7 separate regions of the Homo sapiens genome follow, and all the other regions are linked to region 6. Evidence: promoter capture Hi-C in 16 types of primary human blood cells and fetal thymus (Javierre and others, 2016). All regions are on one chromosome and are shown on one strand. Each heading gives the region's core, a stretch centred on a gene start or on the middle of the fragment in contact. The rest is flanking DNA. Distances are from core to core; before and after follow the strand shown. Region 1 has its middle 130 kb from the start of KAT6A-AS1. Region 2 overlaps KAT6A (lysine acetyltransferase 6A). Region 3 overlaps KAT6A (lysine acetyltransferase 6A). Region 4 has its middle 32 kb from the start of ANK1. Region 5 has its middle 35 kb from the start of CHRNA6. Region 6 holds the start of POLB (DNA polymerase beta). Region 7 overlaps KAT6A (lysine acetyltransferase 6A).

Region 1 (3,441 bases), core at 122-2,621, 410 kb before region 6:
CGGGGAGGCTGTACATGTGTGGGGACAAGGAACATTTTGTACTTTCTACTCAATTTTGCTGTAAACCTAAAACTGGTCTAGTAAATCAAGTACATTAATTTTTTTTAAGAAAACCTCCCTCTATGATTTTTCTCTCATTATAGTTTTGCCCATTTTTGCTTTATATATTTTAGGATCACATTAATAAGGCCATATGAATTTAGAATTTTTATACCTTCCTGATGAATTAAAACTTTTACCATTTTTAACCCTCTTTATTTTGGTAATCCTTTTTGCCTTAAATTCTATTTTGTCTCATATTAATATACCTATACTAATGCTTTCTTTTGTTAGTGATTTCCTAACATAGTTTTTCTATTTTTTTAACTTATGTTTTTCTTATGTTTTTGATGTTTCTCTTATCAACAGCATATAAGGTTTTTAAGCTTTATTTTTCTAATAATCTGTGTCATTTAAATGGAATATTTAGTCCATTTACAAATCACTTAATTACTGATATATTTGGGTTTAAGTCTATTTATAATGTCTTTTCTATTTACTTGTGTCTTTTCTCTCCTTTGTTCCCTTCTTTCAGATTATTTTTCACATTTTATCATTCCATTTTCTCCTTGTATTATTTTGGAATTACACACTGTTTCTGTTCTTTTAGTGATTACCCTGGAAATTAAAATATGCATCTTTCAAAAAAAGTATCTTTAATTTCTCAGTAATATTAATCAAGACATTGAAAGACGTTGAAGCACTTTAACTCCATTTATCCCTTCCTAATTGATATGAAATTGTCTTGTGTTTAAGTGTATGCAATGCATGTGTGTATGAGAGAAAAAAATCATGCCTTTCCAATAATGCAGAAAAAGTGTTTGATAAAATTCAACATCCTTTTATGATAAAAACTCTTAGGAAACTAGGAATTGAATGGATATTCCTTCATGTGATTAAGGGTATGCCTGCTCTAATGACTTCAACACTGTACTGAGCCAGTGCCGTAAGACCAAAAAAAGAAAAAATGATATAATGTTCGGTGAATGGAAGAATCAATACTGTTGTCAATTTTCATTAAATTGATTTTTAGAATAAATGCAATCAAAATAAAATGTCATTATGATCATTTAGGAATCTAATACGTTAATTCTAAAAATATATGGACATGCACAAAGCCTAGAAGGGTCAATCACTTCTGAGAAGAAAAACAACTTAGGAGGAGGACTTGCTTTACTTAATATGAAGATTTATTTTGTAGCTACAGTAATCAAACCAGAATAGACATAGAGATCAATGAAGCAGAATAAATCGTCCAGAAATAGGCTGATGCGTATATGGACACTTGACATAGAGCAGTGGAGAAAGAAATAGTGCTGTCAGAACCGTGTCTCCACATGGGGAAAAGATGAAACTGGTCCCTACCTCATGCCATGAACAAAAATCAATTTCAGATACTTTAAAGATTTAACAATGTAAGCAAAATAAGCTGTTAGAAACTAGAGAATATCAGATAAAACCATTATAATCTCAGAGTAGGGAAAGATTTCCCAACCCACACAGAAAAAAGCACTACCCATAAAGGAAGATACTACTGAACTTGGAACACACTAAAAACTTATGTTCATCAAAAGATACCCTTAAAGTGAAAGGGCAAGTCCCAGAATGGCAGAAGATACGTGTGACATAAGTAACTGACCAAAGACTCTTATTCAAAGTATATAAAGTACTCCTATAAATCAATAAGAAAAAGGCAATTCAATAACGATCCAGGCACAAGACTTAAACACACTCTTCACAAATGAGGAATCTCAAATAGCCACTAAGCATATGAAAAGGTACTCAACTTCATTAGTAATCAGAGAAATGCAAAAGAAAATCACAGAGATTCCACTACACACACACCAGACTGGCAGAAATTGAAATATTTGAAAATATCAAGTATTGACAAGAATGTGGAATAACAAGAACTTTCATACACGGCTAATGGGGGCCAACAACAAGAAACGGAATGGTTACTTTTGAGTCTGGCGTTAGGTGGTACAGCTGGAGTTACACCTGCCTGATCATCCAGCAATTCACCTTTTAGGAGCATACCTATGAGCAATGTCTGCAAATGTGCACCAGATGTATGTGGGATTAAACACAGCAGTATCATTGGTAATAAACCAAACTGAAACCTACATATTTGTCAACTTTAGAATGTATACATTTTTTGTAGTCATATAATATTATACAGCAGTGAAAATAAATGAACTACAGCAACGTCCAACTTCATAAACAAATCTCACGAACATGTTGAGGGAAGCCAGATGCAAACTGTATGATTCCATTTCTGTAAGCTTCAAAACAAGATAGAGTGAAGCTATGATGCTTAAGAATGCACACCTAGGTAGTAAGATACAAGAAAAAGATTTACCGCCTAAGCCTGGATGGTGATCATTTCCGCTTGGGAGGGTAGACTGTGCTTAGGAAGGGCCCTCCAAGCCACAGTGGAGGGACTACTGAGCTGCAGTTCTATTTTGCAGCCTGATTTATTTTTAGAGAGGTATTCACTTTAGACAAATGCATTCAGCTATATGTGTTTTATTGACTTTTCTGTATGTGCTTTATTTTCACAATAACAAGGGGTTTAAAAAAGATGTAAGGGAACCAAGTCCATCTTATTGCATGGGCATTTTCATGTCTTCGTGTGACACCTGAGGCTGCAGAGGAAAGCAGTTTAGATGGCAGTCCGCTGGCAGCAAGGCAGACCCCACGGAGCGGGGAGTTGCCTGATAGCAGCAGCACTGCAACCTGAGATCCCTGTGCTGAGACTCAGCAAAGGTGAGTGGCAGTAGCTGGCTTGAGTCTGCTTTGCTTTGTATTCCTCTGTTCTTTTAATTGAACTACTTCCCTGACCTTTTAAAGTTGTTCTTGCAATAATACATATTATTCAGCTTTCAGATTTACAGCTTTCAATCATCCTTTGAGAATGTCAGGTTAGTTCTAGTTAATTTTAGCTGTTTTCTCTAAACAGGAGGTAAGACAAACTTCTTTGAAATCATGTAATTATCCCATTTGCAAGAAGTCCTTGCCTTTATTAGTAAAGCCTTAATCACTGTCTCTTTGTCAATGTTTTCATTTTCTTTGGAAAACTATGATCAAATTCAATCATTTTGATGTAATTGACTACAACTGCTTTATTAACCTTCATTTACAAAGAAAACTATAGCATTTGGAAAGGCTGAGGTGGGAGGATCACTTGAGCCCACGAGGTCAAGGCTGCAGTGAGCTGTGATAGCGCCACTGCACTCCAGCCTAGGTGACAGAGTCAGACTAGCTCAAGAAAAAAAAAAAGAAAAAAAGAAAAAAATTAAATCAAGCAATTTTACTAAATGTAACAAATCAATTAAACCAGTGAAACTTGCTTGTACATGGGACAGAGCCTCAGTCCTAGCAAGGAAATTGTGTATGAATGTT
Region 2 (3,278 bases), core at 61-2,560, 350 kb before region 6:
TACAAGTAAACAGACACAGTGACTCCTCGGCAGAAGACATTAAGTGAGAGAAACAGTAAGTGTTTTCTAGCAGTACGAAAAAGAAATTCCAACTGTGGTGTGGAGGAAGGGAAAGGTTGAAAGGGGAAAACAACATGTACTAAGCATCAGTATTATGTTTTGGGATCTTTAGAAACTTGTCCAAGGACAGTAGCTAACAAATGTTAAGAGTGGTTTGTTTAATCTATGTTCCTCCTAAGAGTGATGGAGAGAAGGCAATAGAGGTAGTATAAGTAGCATAGACTTAGGTGTGCAGTCTGGTAAGGCCAATGCTTAAAGCACATAGCTTCTGCTATAAGGGAGGGGAAAAAAAATAAAAGAAAGAAGCTAGATAAGTTCGTGAAGACTGCCACCGAAGGTAAAGAAGTTGGACTCTCAAACTCATTAAAATGTATACATTAAATATTTGCTTTTTATATATCAATTATACCTAAATACAGCTTTAAAACGAAAATAAATTTTTTTAAAATTGGACTTTATCCTATAGGCAAGTTTACAGAACCAGGAGATAATCACTTGGAGAAAAATAATTATTGTAGCAATATCAAAGACAAACGGGGAAAACTCCAAAGATAGGTAAAACATTTAAACAGTGGTTACAATGATCTGGTGAAGACAAGATGAGAACTTGAACCAAAGCTAAGGAAATGAAATAGAAGAAATAGCAATGGGCTTAAAACCAGTTTTGAGAGTAGCAGAAAAACAAAGTGAGTTAAATATGACTAAGTGAACTGAAAAGATGGTGACGCTATCAACTGTGCACAGCAAGTCATTTTAAAGCAGAAAGTTTGGAGGAAAGCAATTTGGAGGAAACTGGTGAGTTCCATTTTAAATGTGTTTAGTTGGAGGTACCCTCAGTCACCTCTCAACTGTTTATGCTAGGCACTGTGCAGGATGGCAATGGAAAACCCTCAAGATGCATTCATTCATTGGTTCATTGATTTGCTTGCTTCCCCAAGGACAAAGTATCGAGATGCTTTTAGTCTACTGGGGAGAACAGATAAAGTACAATAAAATGTTTGTAGGTACCATGATAGAACTATAGTAATAGAAAACAGGAGGAAAGTGGGGAAGGAGGTACTTTCACAAAAGTACCCTTTGACTTAAGTTTTTCCAGAAGTATTTAACAGGCAGCCCCACCAGGTTCAAAAAGGTGTTCAAAAAGGTAGAAAATACACAATCAGGTTTGGGAAGGGAAGGTGAGCTTAGTTTGGGGCTTACTGAGCTTAAAAATGCTTATGTAGCCGGGCACAGTGGCTCACGCTTGTAATCCCAGCACTTTGGGAGGCCGAGGCGGGCGGATCACCTGAGGTCAGGAGTTTGAGACCAGCATGGCCAACATGGTGAAACCCTGTCTCTATTAAAAATACAAAAATTAGCCAGGCGTGGTGACATGCATCTGTAATCCCAGCTACTCGGGAGACTGAAGCAGAAGAATCGCTTGAACCCGGGAGGTAGAGGTTGTAGTGAGCCGAGATCGCACCATTGCACTCCAGCCTGGGTGACAAGAGCAAGAGTCCATCTCGGAAAAATAACATAACGTAACGTGACGTGACGTGACGTGACGTGACGTGACGTAACATAACATAACTAAAATAAAAAATAAAAAATACTTATGTAACATTCATGTAGCAATACCCACTGACAATATAATACAGAGAGATCTGAAATTTAAGACAGAGACTGGTCTGGATTTAAAAATCTAGAAGTCATATACATACAAAATGGCATTAAAGCCATCAGAATTGATGAGTTTTCTCACGGAGAAAGGTATGAAGAAGAGAGCTAAGGTGAGAATACCAATAATTAAGTGGCTGGCAGAGAATAAGCCAGAAAAGCAAACAGATTAATGAGAGAGTTGGGTGGAACACCAATATCAAAACATCCAACACAAATAAGCTAACAGTAGTGCTCAGCCAAGAGACTGAGAGATGAACGGCTAGTTGTCTTAATAATTATGGCTTAATCATAATTAAGACTACCACATCCTTTCCTCAAAAAGGAGTATGAAAAAAGAACTGGGGAAGTAAGTCAGGAAAGACTTTATCCAGCAGTAAAAATCTGGGGAAAAAAAAAAACCCAACAACTCTAAAGAAGGCCTAGGAAGAAGGTAGAAGCCAGTCATGAGATTTGAGCTTTATTCTGTAGCCTCTAAGGTACAACTGGGAGATTTTAGGCAGAGGAATAGTACGGCCAAGATTTAAATTTTAGAAAAGTCATTCTGTAAGCAGTTAAAAACTGATTGCAAGGGATGTGATCTATAATCCAGGCCATGAGCAAAGAAGGACTGTATTAAGGCGCTGAGCAAAGAAATGGAGAAAAGAAGATAAAAGATATTAAAAGATAAAATTGTCAGGACTTGATGGCTAATTGCTTTGGGGAGAGAAGCATAGTAAGGAAGACAAGAGACTGGGAAGACAGCACTAAGAAAATGAAAAGGCAAGCCACAGAATGTAAGACATTAACAACAAATTTAACCAACAAATGGCCCATATCCAGCATAAAGAACTTTTTACATTGCAGTAAGGAAGAGGCGGACAGTTCAACAGAGATGGCAAAGACTTCCACAGGTACTTTCCCACAGAAAATACATGAATAACACATGAAAGGCCAACAAACATAAGGAAAGATGTTCAACCTCATTAGTCACCAAGAAAATAGACTTTCGAGAATGGCTAAAATTATGAAGACCACTGATATTAAGGGTTGATTAAAAAGTGGAACAACAGCCAAGTGCAGTGGCTCACACCTGTAATCCCAGCACTTTGGCAGGCCAAGGCGGGCGGATCACAAGGTCAGGAGTTCAAGACCAGCCTGGCCAACATGGTAAAACCCCGTCTCTACTAAAAACACACAAAAAATTAGCTGGGCATGGTGGCGGGCATCTGTAATCCCAGCTAGTCAGGAGGCTGAGGCAGAAGAATCATTTGAACCTGGGAGGCAGAGGTTGCAGTGAGCCAAGATTGTGCCATTGCACTCCAGCCTGGGTGACAGGGCGAGACTCCGTCTCAAAAAAAAAAAAAAAAAAAAAAAAAGGTGGAACAACACATGCACTGCTGACAGGAATATAAATATAAATTGACAAGACCAATTTGAAAATGTTGACGTTATCTACTAAAATTGAACATGTCCATACCACATGATCCAGCACTTCCACTCCTAGCTATATACACAATTGAAGTACATATTAATAAAACATACACCAAAATGTTCAGAGCAGCATTATTCATAATAATACA
Region 3 (3,282 bases), core at 43-2,542, 390 kb before region 6:
CGTGTCCAACCAAAATAAAAGGAACGTGTGGCTTTAGGTTTTATTTATTTCCATTTTTATTTTGAGACAGAGTCTTGCTCTGTGGCCCAGGCTAGGGCCTGCAATGCAGGGGTAGCATTGCTCACTGCAGCTTCAACCTCCTGGGCACTCAAGTGATCCTCTCACCTCTGCTTCCTGAGTAGGTGGAACCCTAGGTACATGCCATCATGCCCACCTAACTTTTTAAATTTTTTGTAGAGACAGGGTCTTGCCATGTTGCCTAAGCTGGTCTTGAACTACTGGGCTCAAGCAATCCTCCCACCCCAGTTTCCCAAAGTGCTGGGATTAGAGGTATGAGCCACAGTGTCCAGCAGTGGCTTTAGGTTTTAAAGAATCATATAGCTATATGACAAAAGATACTAGCAGCCAACAAAGCACCTACAAATCTTTAAATATATATATATACACACACACACACACACACACACACACACACACACACACACACACACAGAGAAGGTCCACTGGAAAAGACCAATGAGAAATTAATATAATCCTTACTGAAATCGATGAGAAACCTGCCATAGCCCTTACGCTGGTATTGAGGAAGAATCATTATACAGGAAACATTGTACTTCTGTTGGCAGTGCTTTTCCTGGTGGAGAAAACACAAGTCAAGTTTGAAAACAGGCTGGTAAAAGTGAATAATAACGTGAATTAAGAAACAAAGACTAATGGCCAAAACCCACAGCCCTGGTCCTTTGGGAATAGCAACGTACATCAACAAACAACTACCCAGCTGGGAGAAGATAGGATAATGTCAAGTCACTGCCATTACCCACAAAGCAACCATCCCAGGAGAGTAAAAATATATAACAAAACAATGCCATCCAACACCATCTGCAACTCAAACACAGTACGCCAATGCCTAAGGATCAGCACCGGAATCTGAGTCCCAAACAATCCGTAAAGCTACAAATGATGAATCAGTGTGCCACTCTAGAAGTGAGAAGACTCATTAATTATGTCAGAGTTTTCTTTCTCTCCTGCTCTGGTGCTCCTCAGAGCAGTCCTATTAGTTGTATCTAACTTTACACAAAATAGTCACTTTTATAATTTTATAAATGAGTGAATATATTTTAAGTCACATCTAACTAATGAAGTAGCCTAAAGAATTCTTATAAATGCTTATAAAAAGCTAGTACTTCCCCTAACTGTTTTATACACTTGGATTTTACCACAGGCTTGCTTAAATAAAAGTATATCTTTTATGTTCTCTGACTAGAAATAAACTTTCTCCCTCTAAGGGAATGGAAGATTAAAAAAGGAGAAAATATCCTTTAACCAAAATGCCTTCTTACTCTTATTTCTATGCCTAAAGTTCAAATAAGGAAGAGAAGATTGAAGCTGAGACAGAACTCAGAGAGCTAATGACTGTTTATTTCAGAAGTTCCATGTTATTACCATGGGAAGAGAAGCCATTTAAAACCTTCCCCGTGAGTATTGCCAGCAGTCCATAATCCTAGGAGAATATAGGTTGTTGAATGTTACTAAGCACCTTCTAGCACCTGGTAAGTTTCCAAATGTTCCTTCTATTCTTTCCAAACAGCTAGATGACACCTAGGAGGTGCTGCATCTTGTTGTGTCCCCGAGTGAGAACCAGCAAAGATTCTTTCAGATTTCTATATGAGTTCAAACAAACTTTAAGCTGACATACTTACCTTAGAAAAGTAGCCAACAAGGTGGCAGCCCTTGACATCATTCTGTGTTAGTACATAAAAAAGAAATGGCTCCACATCGTAATAGAGGGTTTTGTGGTCAAGAAACAACTTTGCCAAAAGACACAGGTTTTGACAATAAATGGTACTCACATTCCCATCAACCTAGAGAAATAAACAGAACAAAACAGTCAGTAGAGGGTCTCTTTAGTTCTAGAATAATATGTATCAGTTAAAAGCATCTCTAGATATCCACAGTCCAGACTAGGAGAAGGTGTCCATGACCAGAACACTTTGGAACCTGGAAGCCATCCTTTGAAATGGCAGTATTATGCTATCTGCTGTTTTAAGACAACCAAATATATAAAACCTCATACCTTCAACATAGCAGGAACAGCCAGATAAGGAAGTGATAATCTGGTTTTAAAAGAGCAATTTTTGCTTTAATAAAAAGATGAATTGTAGCAATCCTTTAGATAGCAAGTTTCGTTTTCAAAGTACTTAACACAACAAAAGATCTAAATACAACCCTTCTAAAATACATTTATTAGGTAAAAGAAGATGTAACTATGTAGTCTAATCTATGCCAGCTGCCTGAAGCAATGCAATCTGACTACCATGATCGGGCTTGAACCCAGATAAAACTACTTAAGGGGGTACTAACTATTGCCACGCAGAAGCACCAAGCGGGTTCCTCAAGCAATCATGTGGTAAATGAGGCTCCAGGTTGGCCAGGCCCAGGAGCACTCTGCTGCTCTTTTGCTCCTGGCAGCCTTGTCTGTGTTCATGGAGTTGCCAGAGCTTTCTATCAAAACGCCAATGGATGCCCACATTAGCTCCCAAGACACTGTCTGCGATACTAACAGAACTCCTCAACAACCCAGGTAGTTTAATATTCTCTTCAAACAGTATATACCACACCTACCCCAGCTTCTCCCAAGGTAAAGAACTCCTCTACTGATCACTTAAAAGAGTCTTAGGGAGGACCAAGAAAAGTGAGAGACTGAGGGGATCCTGACAATCTGAAATTTTACTGTTACAGTAAGTAAACGGCACATAAGCAAGTACTCAATTAATACTTGGCACGAAAACCACAGAACTGAGGATCAAGAGCGCTACTAACAGCAATAGAGAATCACAGAGCAGAGGTCACACATCATCATCATCATCATCATCATCATCAAGATTTACTATTAAACAGATCTCTGTGAGATATTCCTTTTAAATAAGTGATAGAAATCCTTTCATTTAAATGCCATATTTCATAGATTCTAAGATGTACTTTTATCACATCTTAATATATGCAAAATCAACTGGCATTTTATAATCAAATGAAGTTTTAAAAATTATAATTAGTACTTTTTCCATTTTAGTGATACATAAAATAGACAATAGAAAGTTGCACAATAGATGCAATATAGGTGGCCCTACTTATGAAATGGATGAGAGGACAATTACTAAGTATCTACCTTACCTCAAAGACAGAAATATTATTCTTTCTGTAAATCTCATTGGCAGGAGGATGGAACCAACCACATTTCTTCATGTGCTGCTGCAGAATAGTTCTACTTTTCATATATTTTAG
Region 4 (3,385 bases), core at 359-2,858, 510 kb before region 6:
CCAAGCAGCCGCCCTGGGCCGCCTTCCTTCGTCTGTGCGTGCAGCGCCGCCTCCTTCAGCTTAGGCCCGACACTCCATGAACTCTCATTTTCCACCTTCTCCGTCTCCAGCTTCCAAGCTGCACAGGGCCAGGCCGAGGTACGTGATGGCGGGCACTGAATTACAGATCCCGTCTGTGGCCGCCAGCCTCTGTGTCCTGCCACCTCCTCCGAGAGGACATCACCGCCACCAGGTGGAGCGAGTCTCCTCCTCGGCGCTCCAACCACGTGCTGTTTATTACTCTGTGGGGATTCCCATACCGAGGCCTCTTCAGTTCCTGGAACAGTAGCACTAAAAGGCTCCTGAGTGCCTCTGTTAATTTGATTGTTCTGGTTCGCACTACAATGACCGGGCTGGAGAGGGGGCGCTCGTAATGAAACAGGAACTGCTCCTCGCGCCCGCTCCAGAGTCCTTTACATCTTTGGGGAGAGGGCATACGGGGAGCTACATTTCATTTTCCTGAAGATTTTCCACGCGAAAGTGCTGGGGAGAGAGTTGGGCCTGGGAGGCTGCGCCTTCTTCCCGCGAATCCCGAAAACTGCGCGGCAAAGGCGGGTTCCGCAGAAGTCGCGCGTGACCCGGGGCGCCGCCCTCCTCGGGGCCCATTCGGATCTGCCGCCCGTCCTCTCCAGAGCGCCCCCTGGCGCCCTCTAGGCCATCTTGATTCCACCGCCGCAGTTGAAAGAATTAATAAATAAATCCTAGTCTCGCGTCTAGACCGGTCCGTGAGGGTCCCCTGCTCACCGGACACCCTGCCGCAATCTCTGCTGTCCCATTCTGGCCTCCCTACGGGGACGGGGGCCACCGTTTGCACATCAGCGGCGTTTGGGACAGCACTGTGCAAGATCTGTGACTCGGCTTTCAGAAGCTTCTGCCACAAGGCTTCAAAGGAAACCTTCAATTTTCACATTTCCTAGGGGGAAAAAAAATCTGAGATTTCTTCTTGTGGCTTGATGAACTTAGCTTTCGTCGCTGGAACAAAACCCGAGGAACAGCGTCTTCGCCACCCTTGCCACCTTACTGATGTTTCTCAGGGGGCACATGCCCATCGCAACCTTATGACCAATCCCATTTTTCAGATGCAGAAAGAGGCTCAGAGAGGTTAAGTGCTACTTGCTCAAGGCCACAGCAGGGAGTGGAGCTGGATTCGCTCCCAGGCAACTGACCCCAGCGTGCAGTCGATGCCTTCTCCTAGTCCCACTCACCGTGTAAGACCTGGTATTTACAAATTAGATTCTCGTTGTGCTTCTCCATTGGAAGGGCACTAGGGGAGCTCATTGTCTAAGACTGCCATCCCTAACTGCCTTTTAAAAAGAAATCTGGGCCGGGCGCAGTGGTTCATGCCTGTAATCCCAGCACTTTGGGAGGCCGAGGCAGGCAGATCACGAGGTCAAGAGATCGAGACCGTCCTGGCTAACACGGTGAAACCCCGTCTCTACTAAAAATACAAAAAATTAGCCGGGCGTGGTGGCGGGCGCCTGTAGTCCCAGCTACTTGGGAGGCTGAGGCAGGAGAATGGCTTGAACCCAGGAGGCTGAACTTGCAGTGAGCCGAGATCGCCCCACTGCACTCCAGCCTGGGCGACAGAGCGAGACTCTGTCTCAAAAAAAAAAAAAAAAAAAAAAATCTGACGTGACAAGGCCTTTAGTTTTTATAAGTGAGGTCTCCTCTCTTTGCCTAGATATTCCTCCGATAACATCAATGAAATTTTGCCCAGCACAGAGCAAGTACTAAATAATGATTTGGTGAATCTAATGTTGAGCCTGCAGTAATCCAACTAGAAACACCCACTCAGCCACTCGGGCATACCTTTTATTTGGGCAAGGGGCACTGCAGTTCTCTGGGCAGGGGTCAGCTAGGAGAGACCAATAGATGCCCCCACCCCAGGCTCCTAGACCCATCTCCAGGACCAAACAGCCAAAGCCCCTCTTCTTTTCTTCAAAATACACACATTTCTAGAAATTCTCTGCAAAATACATAGGCTACTAGATAAGCACCCAGTTTCCCTCTGGGGTCATTTGTTCCCGAATGAGGCTTATTAAAAGAGGAAACTATTTTTAAGCTAAATCATCAATCAAAAGTATTCTTCATTCTGGTATATGGCTGCTTTCCACAGATGATAAAATCCCGTCAACTTGATCCAAAGAAAAAATGACCTACATAACAATGACAGCATGAATAACAATTAATCCTCCATTGAAATGTTCAAAAGCTAGAATTGTGGTAAAGCCAAGATTCCCAGGGAGTGTCAGGAACTGCTCTCTTGATTCTAAGCTTGAAGCAGGTAAAGAAAAGGTTGTCTGGGACTAGGGCTTTCGGGGATAGGACCCAAATCCCAAGGCAAAGGGAGTCAGAAGCGAGTAAGAAAAGCAAACAGCTCCTACCTACCCAGTGCCAAAGAAACGCAGACACCAGTTCTGTGTCGGTTCTGCTTGAAAAGGTCTGAGAAGAATAATTTGGTAGATGAATCATTGAAGAATAATTTTGCAGACAGCTCCATCAAGCCAAATGCCCAGCGTGAGGGCTGTGTGTATAATACTGTCATAACCTTTGAAGATAGATTCTGTTCATCAACACGGCTGTTTACATAATCACTTGGTCACCTCACCAAATGGATTAATCTTTTTGGTCACATTCCTTATCAGTGCATGGAGAGGCTAATTGTTGGTGGCCCAATGTGTCCCATAAACGGATCCCATGAGAATAAGCTTGCAGCAACAGATGATGAAGGGAACTGAGATACAGACGAAAGCACAGCGGCCTGGGAGACAGGAGACGAGGCTCCGCCTGGACCTTGACGACGACCTTCCTTAAAACTATGGACTCGTCATCTGACCTCTCAAGGCCTCCATTTCCCCATCTGTAAAACCGAAAGCCCCTCAGCAATCTGGGGCTATCATCTGAAAAGTGTGGGCAGCTGCGGGCGCTCATACCTCAAGCCCCAAGAGTTTCTTCTTCTAACAGTAACATACTTTGCACATGACCCAGCAATCCCACTCCTGGGTATTTACCTGATAAATGAAAACCCATGTTTGCCGGGCATGGTGGCTCATGCATGTAATCCCAGCACTTTGGGAGGCCAAGGTGGGCGGATCACTTGAAGTCAAAAGTTCAAGACCAGCCTGGAAAACATGGTGAAACCCCATCTCTACTAAAACTACAAAAATTGGTGGGGTGTGGAGGCACATGCCTGTAGTTCCAGCTACTCGGGAAACTGAGGCAGAAGGATTGCTTGAACCCAGGAATTGGAGGTTACAAGTGAGCCAAGATTGCGCCATTGCACTCCAGTGCAGAGCAAAAGTCTGTCAAAAAAAAAAAAAAAAGAAGAAGAAAAAGAAAAAAGGAA
Region 5 (3,074 bases), core at 504-3,003, 470 kb after region 6:
CAACATAGCAAAACCCCATCTCTACTAAAAATACACAAAAATTACCTGGACGTGGTGGTGGGTGCCTGTAATCCCAGTTACTCGGGGGGCTGATGCAGGAGAATCGCTTGAACCTGGAAGGCAGAGGTTGCAGTCAGCTGAGATTGCACCATTGCACTCCAGCCTGGGCAACAAGAGCGAAACTCCGTCTCAAAATAAAATAAAAATAAAAATAAAAAACTTAGCCACGTGTGGTGATGCACACCTGTAGTCCCAGCTATTCAGAAGGCTGTGGTGGGAGGATCGCTTGAGTCCAGGAGGTCGAGGCTATAGTGAGCTACGATTACACCACTGTACTCCAGCCTAGGTAACAGAGCACAACCTTGTTTTTTAAAAAAAAAAAAAAAGTCTTATTGACATTTAAGTTGGTTGGGGTAGGGGGGGATTTGAGATGGAGTCTTGCTCTGTTGCCCAGGCTGGAGAACAGTGGCGCGATCTCAGCTCACTGCAACCTCTGCCTCCCAGGTTCAAGCAATTCTCTGCCTCAGCCTACTGAGTAGCTGGGATTACAAGCGCCCACCACCACGCCCGGCTAATTTTTGTATTTTTAGTAGAGACAGGGTTTCACCATCTTGGCCAGGCTGGTCTTGAACTTCTGACCTCATGATCCACCCATCTCGGCCTCCCAAAGTGCTGGGATTACAGGCGCGGGCCACCGCACCCAGCCAGTTTTTTTTGGATAGACACAGAAATGGACCCTTCTGGTCTTAAAGCTTGAAGCTTACGTTTGTTTTATCTGAGTTCTTTCCTCAGGAATGGACCTTCAGGCTGCTCAAAAAAAGTATCAGGGAACTGAAACTCACCAGATCACCACATCCTGACAATGAGTTGGACCCTTCATTCATCATGATTGCCTCCTTGGCCCTCCCAAGTTCCTGTTTTCTTACACATTGTTACATTCCCTCCCTGCTATAGAAACCCCTAGTTTTAGTGGGTCAGGGAGATGGATTTGAGGCTGAGTCCCCATCTCCTCGGCCATAGCACTGGATTAACGCCTTCTTCCTTGGCATTACTGGTGGTCCCAGTTCATTGGCTTTCTGTGCAGCTTGCGGCAGGACGGAGACTGAAACCCTGGTGGTTCAGTAACAGAGAGAGTCTAGCATGAATTGAGCTCAACCTCGATTTGTACAGAGGTGACTGGGAGTTTTTAAAGAGAGAATGAGGGAGCAGTGAAGTGAGTGAGCAGGGGCTCAGTAGACTGAGGGAAGTGAAAAGTTATGAAAAGCAGGAATGAGGGCCTAGTGTTACCCAAGTTAGGCTCCTATGCCCCCACCGAGGTTGGGAGTCAGTAATTCTTTTGGCAGCTTGAGTTTCCTCAGGCAGGCATTTTTCCTCTGGGGACATCCTAGAGAAGTGGCTTTAAGCTGCTAGAAACTGGGTCAGTGTTTTGCTCAACTCTTGCTAGGCCAACATTGAGGTCCAGTGGAGAAAGGGCTCAGAGGAGCCTGGCCAGAGTTTGGATAAGGAGAGTCTTTGTCAGGGCAAAACAACAGATAGCCAGGAGTGCAAGGCCTGGGTGAGACAGCCACATATTCCCCTTCCAGAGGCAGGGTCAGCCTGGCTCTGTTCCTGCTCACTGGGCCCCATGGAAAGGCATTGCCAGAATATGTTTTGCTTTTTTTTTTTTTTAAGAGAAACCTAAAATCTTAATTCTATGTGATCTCTCCTGAATTTTTAATTTTGACCAATTAAAAACACACTTCAAATGGCAGTAGCCCCACAAAATACATCCGCCGGCCAGATTCAGACCATGACCCACAATAATTTTCCTTTCTTTTCTTTTCTTTTTTTCCTGAGATGGAGTTTCACTCTGTGGCCCAGGCTGGAATGCAGTGGCGTGATCTCAGCTCACTGCAGCCTCTGCTTTCCAGGTTCAAATGATTCTGATGCCTCAGCCTCCAAGTAGCTAGGATTACAGGTATGCACCACCATGCCTGGCTAATTTTTGTATTTTTAGTAGAGGTGGGGTTTCACCATGTTGGCCAGGATGGTCTTGAGCTCCTGACCTCGAGTGATCGGCCCGCCTCGGTCTCCCAAAGTACTGGGATTCCAGACGTGAGCCACCGCACCCGGCCTGCAATAATTTTCTAATTCGGCCCTAAGCAGAAAATAGAAGATGTCTTCGGTTGCTGTTTTATTTAGGAAAATATGCAGACAGATCATTTTGCTGAGCTAGTCTGTATTGCTTAGTTGCTCTACATAAAGCAAGATATTTATGTGGCATTTGCCACCTCCCTCACCCCCCATAGAAAATAAGAACGTTCTTAGGAGTGAGTGTGAAAGCAGATTTCAGCAATGTGCCTGACGGTCTGCACCCAAGGTCAGCGAGATGGGTAGGAACTCAGGCATGAGATGGCTGCCGTTTTTGCAGTCCCACTCCCCCACTGCACCCCCATGCACATGCTGCAATAACCCTGTTGTCGGAACCTGCGGTGGCAGCCTGTTTCACAGAAGCATTGCTGTAGTGGCACCAGGGGATAAAAACCAGTTGCCCCACTGGAAAGTTTAATAATGTTTCAAAAGATCATAGTGTTACTATTAGGAACAATGAATACCAGAATGCAAATATTCATGAATAAGGAAAGCAATGGTTTTAGCTAATTCATTTTATTTTGGAAAGTGACATGTGATCAGTGACTTTAAAGGAAGCCTTACGTTTATGTGATTGCGGGTTGGGGGGAAGGTTGTTTTGTCAGACACAGCAAATACCAAGCTTCCCCTGCCACCTACTGGCTGTTCCTTGCAATGAAAAAATTCTGAATAAGATGTGGTATATTAGAACCAGAGGTTGTTGTGAAAATAATTTTTAAAAATTAGCCTGGTGGCACACGTCTGTATTTCCAGCTAGTCGGGAGGCTGCAGCAGAGAATCGCTTGAACTCTTGGGAGGCGGAGGCTGCAGTGAGCCGAGATCGCGCCACTGCCTCCTGGGCGACAGAGGAAATTATTTCTAAAGCTGGGTGGTGTGCGCATTGACATTTATGATGTTTTTTGTTTGTTTTGTTTTGTTTTGTTTTGAGACGGAGTCTCGTTCTG
Region 6 (3,351 bases), core at 534-3,033:
AGCACTTTAATAGGCCAAGGCGGGTGGATCACTTGAGGTCAGGGGTTTGAGACCAGCCTGGCCAACATGGTGAAACCCCATCTCTACTAAAAATACAAAAATTAGCTGGGCATGGTGGCAGGATCCTGTAATCCCAGCTACTCGGGAGGCTGAGGCAGGAGAATCACTTGAACCCGGGAGGCAGAGGTTGCAGTGAGCCGAGATCGTGCCATTGCACTCTGGCCTGCGGGACAAGAGTGAAACTCTGTCTCAAAACAAAAAAATTTGTAAAACTGATCCCACAATTCCCTACATTTGTAACTTTTAAAATTCAGAGGTAAATACATTTTTATTTAAGGAGGAATAATTCTTCAGAGCAAAATAATCTGAATATCACCTGGAATAGAGATTGGACAGAAAAAAGTGTGAACAGGGAAAACTAGGACAAGTCATATATGTAAATGAGAGTATAAAGAGTAAATGAGAGTGGTCACTGCTCACTGCAGCTTAACTAATCAGATAGTTAAGTTGCAGGCATAAAGTTTTTTTAACTTTTATTCCTCAAGTAATAAATTGAGGAAAATACAAATATGTACAAAATTTTTACAAAAGCTATCCATAAAAGGGCAAGTAGTAATATATAGAAAAGATCTACCAGATTAGTAACAAACTACCCCCATTAGGAAAATGGTAAATGATATGAATAGGAAATTCAAAAAAAGAAGAATTACAGATTTCCAATAAGCATAACTTAAGATATACACTGATATTGTAAGGAAACACAATCACCACAACCTTGCTAATCAAAGAAACTAATGATATTTATTGGAAAATAATGGGAATTTTTAATAGACTGGGTTAGAAGACTAGAAGTGTACGTCCCAAAATATTAATAGTTCAGCTGTAGGGTGAGATCACTGATTTTAATTTTCTCCTTTTATACATTTTTCCAGATTTCTCTACAGCAACTACGTATCATTTTGTAATAAATTTTAATTTTTCGATGCACAAAGCAATTGCCTGGAATTGCAGTTCGATATGAACCCAGGAGTTACGCTTGTAAAATAAACTATTGCTGATGTGACATTTCCATTTCTCAAGCAGACTGTAAATTTCTCAGATGTAGGTCATCATGTTATAATTAGGGTTCCATTGCTCATGATCTAGATGAAACACTTCTCCCTTTCTTGTGGTCTCTTCATTAATTTGGTCCCTACCGCAAAGGCAGGGGGATTAAAAATAAAATATCTTTTGACACTGGTTGGCAGGTGTACTAACACGTGTGCGGGAGGATTCCTGTTCTCGGCATGGTTCACGCCGGGCTCCGGCAGCGCCCTAGTACGTAAGGGGCTGCACTGGAGTGTGGACTGCCCGGTATCCTTAGAGAAAGTTTTGACAGTGTGACGCCAGTGTCGCCTCTAACCACGTACAAAACGCGCCATGCATTGGGTAGCTATTACAGTGCACATTTTTGTGCAGGAAGCTACCCCACCAGCGCAAGTATTTCAGAATCAAGATCGCACTCCCGTTTCCCCTTCTAGGGAAAGGATTCCAGATAAACACTGAGAAAACAGATTTAATATCTTAGGTCAAAACTCCAGGTCTTCCCATAGGAAGGCCCCTGGGCTGTCATTCTGAGGTGCCTATTTCCCCCGCGCCGTGTCCACGTCCACGAGTCCACGAACCCTCCGAGTTCTCTCTCCTCACCTGCCGAGGGCTCGCCCCTCTAGCCCCGCCCCGCCCCGCCCAGGACGCGTGACGTCACAACAAGCGCCGTGCGCCCCGCCCCCCATCGGGGGCAACCATTGTTCCGCCGGTCGCGCCGGAGCTGGGTTGCTCCTGCTCCCGTCTCCAAGTCCTGGTACCTCCTTCAAGCTGGGAGAGGGCTCTAGTCCCTGGTTCTGAACACTCTGGGGTTCTCGGGTGCAGGCCGCCATGAGCAAACGGAAGGCGCCGCAGGAGACTCTCAACGGGGGAATCACCGACATGCTCACAGGTTAGCACCGGGCCGGGCCCCGCTGGCTTTCTTCTTTCCTTCCAGCCTCTTCCCCTGCCTTCCTTCTCTCCCACACCGACAGTCCAGTGGGTAGGGTAGGTTCCTTGCAGCGGGTCGTCTTCCGTGGGGATCTCCCTCCGGCGCCCCTGGCTGGTTGTCAGTCCTGCCGGCTACACCTGGGCCATCGCTTGGGCTGCTTTTGGTCTGGCCCTTGGAGGAAACGGGTGGTCACTGTCTCTTAGAGGCTGCCATATCCCCTTCCAGAAAACAGTTCTCGTTTGTTTACTCGTGGTTCTTGTTCACCCGAGCCTTCTGTTGCCTTTCAGAACTCGCAAACTTTGAGAAGAACGTGAGCCAAGCTATCCACAAGTACAATGCTTACAGGTGGGACAGTGCAGCATTCTCGGGTAGCATACGTTCTGGGATACCCTGTTTAGTGTGGCAATTAACAGGACTGAGGGCCCAGTGGATATTTGGTCCATCTGCAAGAGCGGGAAAAAGCAAGAATCGAGGCTGGTACCTTACTATTTCTTGAAGAATGTGGGCAGTGCGTTATAGGATCAGTTCAGATAAGTTCCCAATTCTGATTGCAGATAGCTGTAGCCTGATACGTATTTTGTCATCATCAAACATGAATTACTAGAAATGCGGTGTAATTTTAACCGTAATGAAAGACAGCGGATGAAGTCCATACTGTGAAATATATGTGGTTCAAGGAATCACATTTTTTCTTTTGGTTGGTCTAAAGTTGATCCTGTGGGATCCTGATCCTGATCCTTGTTCCTTGTTCATGGGATCCTGTCCTTGTTCATCTCACCAGGGGCCTTATCCTATTCATTCTTTCCACATCCACCTGCTTCTACTCCTTAGCCTATATTTATTTATTTATTTATTTTTATTTGAGACGGGGTCTCGCTGTGGTATGATCATGGCTCATTGCAGCTTCAACCTTCCAGCCTCAAGTGATCTTCCCATCTCAGCCTCCTGAGTGGCTGGGACTACTACAGGCGCACGCCACCACACCCAGCTAATTTTTTTTTCTTTCTTTTTTTTTCTTTTTTTTTTTGTAGAGACCGGGTTTTGCTATGTTGCCCAGGCTGATCTCCAACTCCTAAACTCAAATGGTCCACACACCTTGGTCTCCCAGAGTGCTGGGATTCCAGGCATCAGCCTCGGTGTCAGCTCTCCTTAGCCTATAAATATGTGCAAGTCCCTCAGCTCTTAAAAGCAAAACCAAAACAATCTTAACTTCCCTCTAGCTAGCACCTTCCCTCTTTTCTCACTTTATGGTGAATCTTCTTGAAAAATCTTCATTCCTTGCCTGGACTTCTTAATACCTAATCATTTACTCAAGAAGTCCCAGTCCTTGCCTGGAC
Region 7 (3,230 bases), core at 38-2,537, 370 kb before region 6:
TGGTTCTGCCCTCTCCTTCAATCCTAACTCCCAATCCAACAGCAGTCTTTTCCATTCTATCTTAAGTCTTTCTCAAAACGATTATCTATCTCTGTCTCCTATCTATCTCTTCTACCTTCATTTAGGCCCCAGTCACTTTTCATTTTGACTACTGTAATCATCTGACTGGTCCCTTGCTCAGGTGTTCCTCAATCCATTGCTGACAATATCACCAGACTTGAGTTTCTAAAATACAAATATGATGTCATCCACTTTTTAGAAATTCTTTAGCAGTTCCTCAAGAGCTATTTAGCTACTACTTAACTACTTTAAAGAGCTACTTTACCTGCAAGATTAAGTACAAACTCCTTAATATGAAACACAAAATCTTCATGATCTAGTACCCCTCCAATATCATCTCTTGTTTGAACTCCAACCAACTGCACACAGCTCCGAGAATACACGATTTCTCACACCCAAACTTGCTACTAGAAATGCCTTCTCACTCTTCTCCAATAGTAAACTTACTCATCCCTTCAGCACCCTACACAAATGTCACCTCCTCTACAAAGACTTAAAATTTTAGTTAACCACAATAACTAAAAATAGAACAATAACATCCCTAGATGTCTTCCTGTTCATTCTCACTGCAATTTATGCATATCTCCACAGTAATACTATATCATAAATTAAGCAGTTAAGGCCATGGAGTCAGAATACCAGGGTTCAAATATTGACTCTGAAACTTAACAATTTATAACTCTAGGTAAAACAATCCTTCTAATGTTTCCATTTCTTCATTTGTAAGATGAGGCCAAGTAATTAATAATAAAGTTGTATTAAATGAAACAAATTAATATATAATGCTGAATATAGTATTTTACATATAATAAGAGGGTATCTATTACTAACCACATGGCTTTAATTACTTGTTTATTCAATAGTCCCCCTTATCCACCCACTGGGAATACACCTTTCCAAAACCTACAGTGAATACCTGAAAACTGCAGATAGTATTAAATGTTATACAAGTTGAGTATCCCTAATCTGAAAATCTGAAACCTGAAATGCTCCAAAATCTGAAACGTTTTGAGCACTAATGATACTCAAACGAAATGCTCGTAAGAACACTGCAGATTTTGAATTCAGGATGCTCGACGGCTAAGCATATGATGCAAATATTCCAAAATCTGAAAAAAAAAAAAAAAAAAAATCAAAATCCAAAACACTTCTGGTCCCAAGCATTTTGGATAAGGGATAGTCAACCTGTATATACTATGTTTTTTCCTATTCATCCATACCCATGATATTTAATTTATAAATTAGGCACAGTAAGAGATTAACAACAATAACTAAAAACAGAACAATTAAAACGATGTACTGTAATAACAGTTACGTGAATGTGGTCTCTCTCAAAATATCCTATTGCATGGTATGCACCCTTCTGATGATGATGAGGAGGAGGAGACGATGATAATAAAATTCAGACCTTGGCAAGCCAAGGGTAACTGAAACCATGGAAAGCAAAACCACAGATAAAAGGGGGATTACTGTAAATACAGGAGATAGGGTGATTATTGGCCCATCAGATCAACAAATATTTGAGGACCTACTACATGCAAGTCACACTGTGGAGATGATATAGAAAACACAGTATCTGCCCATAAAGGTGTTGTAAGACAGGCAGTCCTTGTTTTTGATGGCACTGTGTTAATGGAAACAGGTACACATCAGAATTGTGTCCGTGCTTCTGAGGTGACAGATTTGACCTTAGTTCTGATATGCATGGGTTTTTTGTATGTTGTAATAAAACTTTATTTACGAACGCTAACATTTTTCACATAATTTTCACATGTCCATAAATATTATTCTTTTTATTTTTGTCCAACTGTTTAAAAATATTAAAACCATCCTCAGCTTGCAGGTCATACAAAACAGGCTGTGGATGGGACTGGGCCACAGGCCATATTTTGCCAACCCTAACACAGGTGAAGCAGTTTCTAAGCTGTATCTATGCCCTCAAAAATGACTTTCTGCATTACCTTTATGAGTCTTTTTATTATTCAAAACATCCTCTTATCTAGCCAAGATGAACTTTCCCAACTGGCTTCAAACCACTTTTTTTATTACAGCGTCAGAGAACCTGGAAGTCATCTTTGATCATCTCCTGTTCCTTCAATCTACTTTAGTTTGATAAGCATGGGTTTCAGTTAACATTGCACCATGCAAAGTGAGGAATAGCTGGAGTTTAGTTTGAGATAAGACAGGGTGGAACATCTGTTGGGCAATGGTAATACACTGAATTACTAGTATTAAGCTGCATTTTGGAGCATTTTGAAAGCTAGTAACAAGATGTCAGTTTCGGCATGACGGGATTTTAAGGTACCCCCATGACATCTTTTTGCTGTTAAGTGATGTCTCCTTGATGCTGCTGAAAGTAGGAATGGTAGGTGGGGCGATGTTTACTGTGTTAAGGCATTTACCCATTAAATATAAGTCACATATTAAAGGCCGCATAGATGTATTTTTAGTTCATTGGATAATTTAGCACAACTTATTAAAATAGTAGTTAAGAGCCTGGGAACTAGAAAAGGCTAGCACAGTTCAAATCCTATCTCGGCTGAATCACCTTAGTTGGGCAAGTCACTATCAGATTTGTTGAAAAGCTTAAACGAGTTGATATTTGCACAGAACTTACAGCACTATGCCATTCATGCAGTGAGTGCCAAATAAATGTGAGCTTCTGCTTGCTATCTCAGTGGCAGGTTCTTGGAATACACAGATAATACGTCTTTGCCCTCCAGCTGGAATTATTTATAGTAGTCTCCCCTTATCCCCAGCTTTGCTTTTCGAGGTTCTAGTTACCTGTCGTCAGCCTCGGTGCAAATTTTATCATCTCACACCGTCAGAAGAGTTAGTACAGTACAATAGTACAATAAGAGATTTAGAGAGAGACAGACTACATTCATGTAACACAATACAGTACATACAGGGTTCAGTACAGTCCACGGTTTCAGGCATCTACTGGGGATCTTGGAGCGTATCACTGGTGGATACGCGGGGACTCCTGTATAGTAGTCATTGCTTCCTCAAAGCTGAAGTTAATGTTGTTTACTCCATCTGATAAGCCCTAGTTCTCTCCATCTACCTAAATCCTCATCATTCCTTAGGACTGCTGCTTCTGTGATCATCTCAGGTTGCGCCAATTCTCACACATCTTAGTATACTGTGAACATCTGAGACAAGTCTGA

The links. The method cuts DNA at HindIII sites, captures the fragments that hold promoters and counts their contacts. A CHiCAGO score of 5 or more calls a contact.
Region 1: a contact is called between a fragment that was not itself captured here and the fragment with the promoter of POLB in region 6, in 2 of 17 cell types (naive CD4 T cells and total CD4 T cells). The highest score is 5.7, in naive CD4 T cells.
Region 2: a fragment that was not itself captured here is called in contact with the fragment with the promoter of POLB in region 6 in 6 of 17 cell types (activated CD4 T cells, total CD4 T cells, naive CD4 T cells and 3 more); the score reaches 9.6 in activated CD4 T cells.
Region 3: a contact is called between a fragment that was not itself captured here and the fragment with the promoter of POLB in region 6, in 7 of 17 cell types (naive B cells, total CD8 T cells, naive CD4 T cells and 4 more). The highest score is 9.5, in naive B cells.
Region 4: a fragment that was not itself captured here is called in contact with the fragment with the promoter of POLB in region 6 in 1 of 17 cell types (naive CD4 T cells); the score reaches 5.1 in naive CD4 T cells.
Region 5: a contact is called between a fragment that was not itself captured here and the fragment with the promoter of POLB in region 6, in 1 of 17 cell types (erythroblasts). The highest score is 5.3, in erythroblasts.
Region 7: a fragment that was not itself captured here is called in contact with the fragment with the promoter of POLB in region 6 in 12 of 17 cell types (naive B cells, non-activated CD4 T cells, total CD4 T cells and 9 more); the score reaches 9.1 in naive B cells.

The regions. Positions count from the first base shown.
Region 1 is chr8:41,923,205-41,926,645 of GRCh38, forward strand. No RefSeq gene overlaps it. Among named protein-coding and RNA genes, the nearest start is that of KAT6A-AS1, 130 kb to the right of the region's middle. The HindIII fragment of the contact is 1,896 bases long and covers 424-2,319 here.
Region 2 is chr8:41,987,946-41,991,223 of GRCh38, forward strand. All of the region lies in intron 2 of KAT6A (lysine acetyltransferase 6A), which reads right to left. Among named protein-coding and RNA genes, the nearest start is that of KAT6A-AS1, 62 kb to the right of the region's middle. The HindIII fragment of the contact is 9,711 bases long and covers 1-3,278 here.
Region 3 is chr8:41,946,051-41,949,332 of GRCh38, forward strand. KAT6A (lysine acetyltransferase 6A) reads right to left here. Exons shown (of 17, transcript NM_006766.5): 10 at 3,172-3,282; 11 at 1,701-1,862; 12 at 541-634. Among named protein-coding and RNA genes, the nearest start is that of KAT6A-AS1, 100 kb to the right of the region's middle. The HindIII fragment of the contact is 4,864 bases long and covers 1-3,282 here.
Region 4 is chr8:41,828,294-41,831,678 of GRCh38, forward strand. It overlaps a transcript of ANK1 not described here. Among named protein-coding and RNA genes, the nearest start is that of ANK1, 32 kb to the left of the region's middle. RefSeq lists enhancers at 1-246, 1-92, 1-592. The HindIII fragment of the contact is 1,406 bases long and covers 906-2,311 here.
Region 5 is chr8:42,802,672-42,805,745 of GRCh38, forward strand. No RefSeq gene overlaps it. Among named protein-coding and RNA genes, the nearest start is that of CHRNA6, 35 kb to the left of the region's middle. RefSeq lists an enhancer at 1,286-1,445. The HindIII fragment of the contact is 1,993 bases long and covers 758-2,750 here.
Region 6 is chr8:42,336,711-42,340,061 of GRCh38, forward strand. It overlaps POLB (DNA polymerase beta), which reads left to right and starts at 1,784. Exons shown (of 14, transcript NM_002690.3): 1 at 1,784-1,975; 2 at 2,302-2,359. The coding sequence starts at 1,915. The HindIII fragment of the contact is 11,887 bases long and covers 1-3,351 here.
Region 7 is chr8:41,963,456-41,966,685 of GRCh38, forward strand. The region is part of intron 8 of KAT6A (lysine acetyltransferase 6A); the gene reads right to left. Among named protein-coding and RNA genes, the nearest start is that of KAT6A-AS1, 87 kb to the right of the region's middle. The HindIII fragment of the contact is 2,712 bases long and covers 1-2,643 here.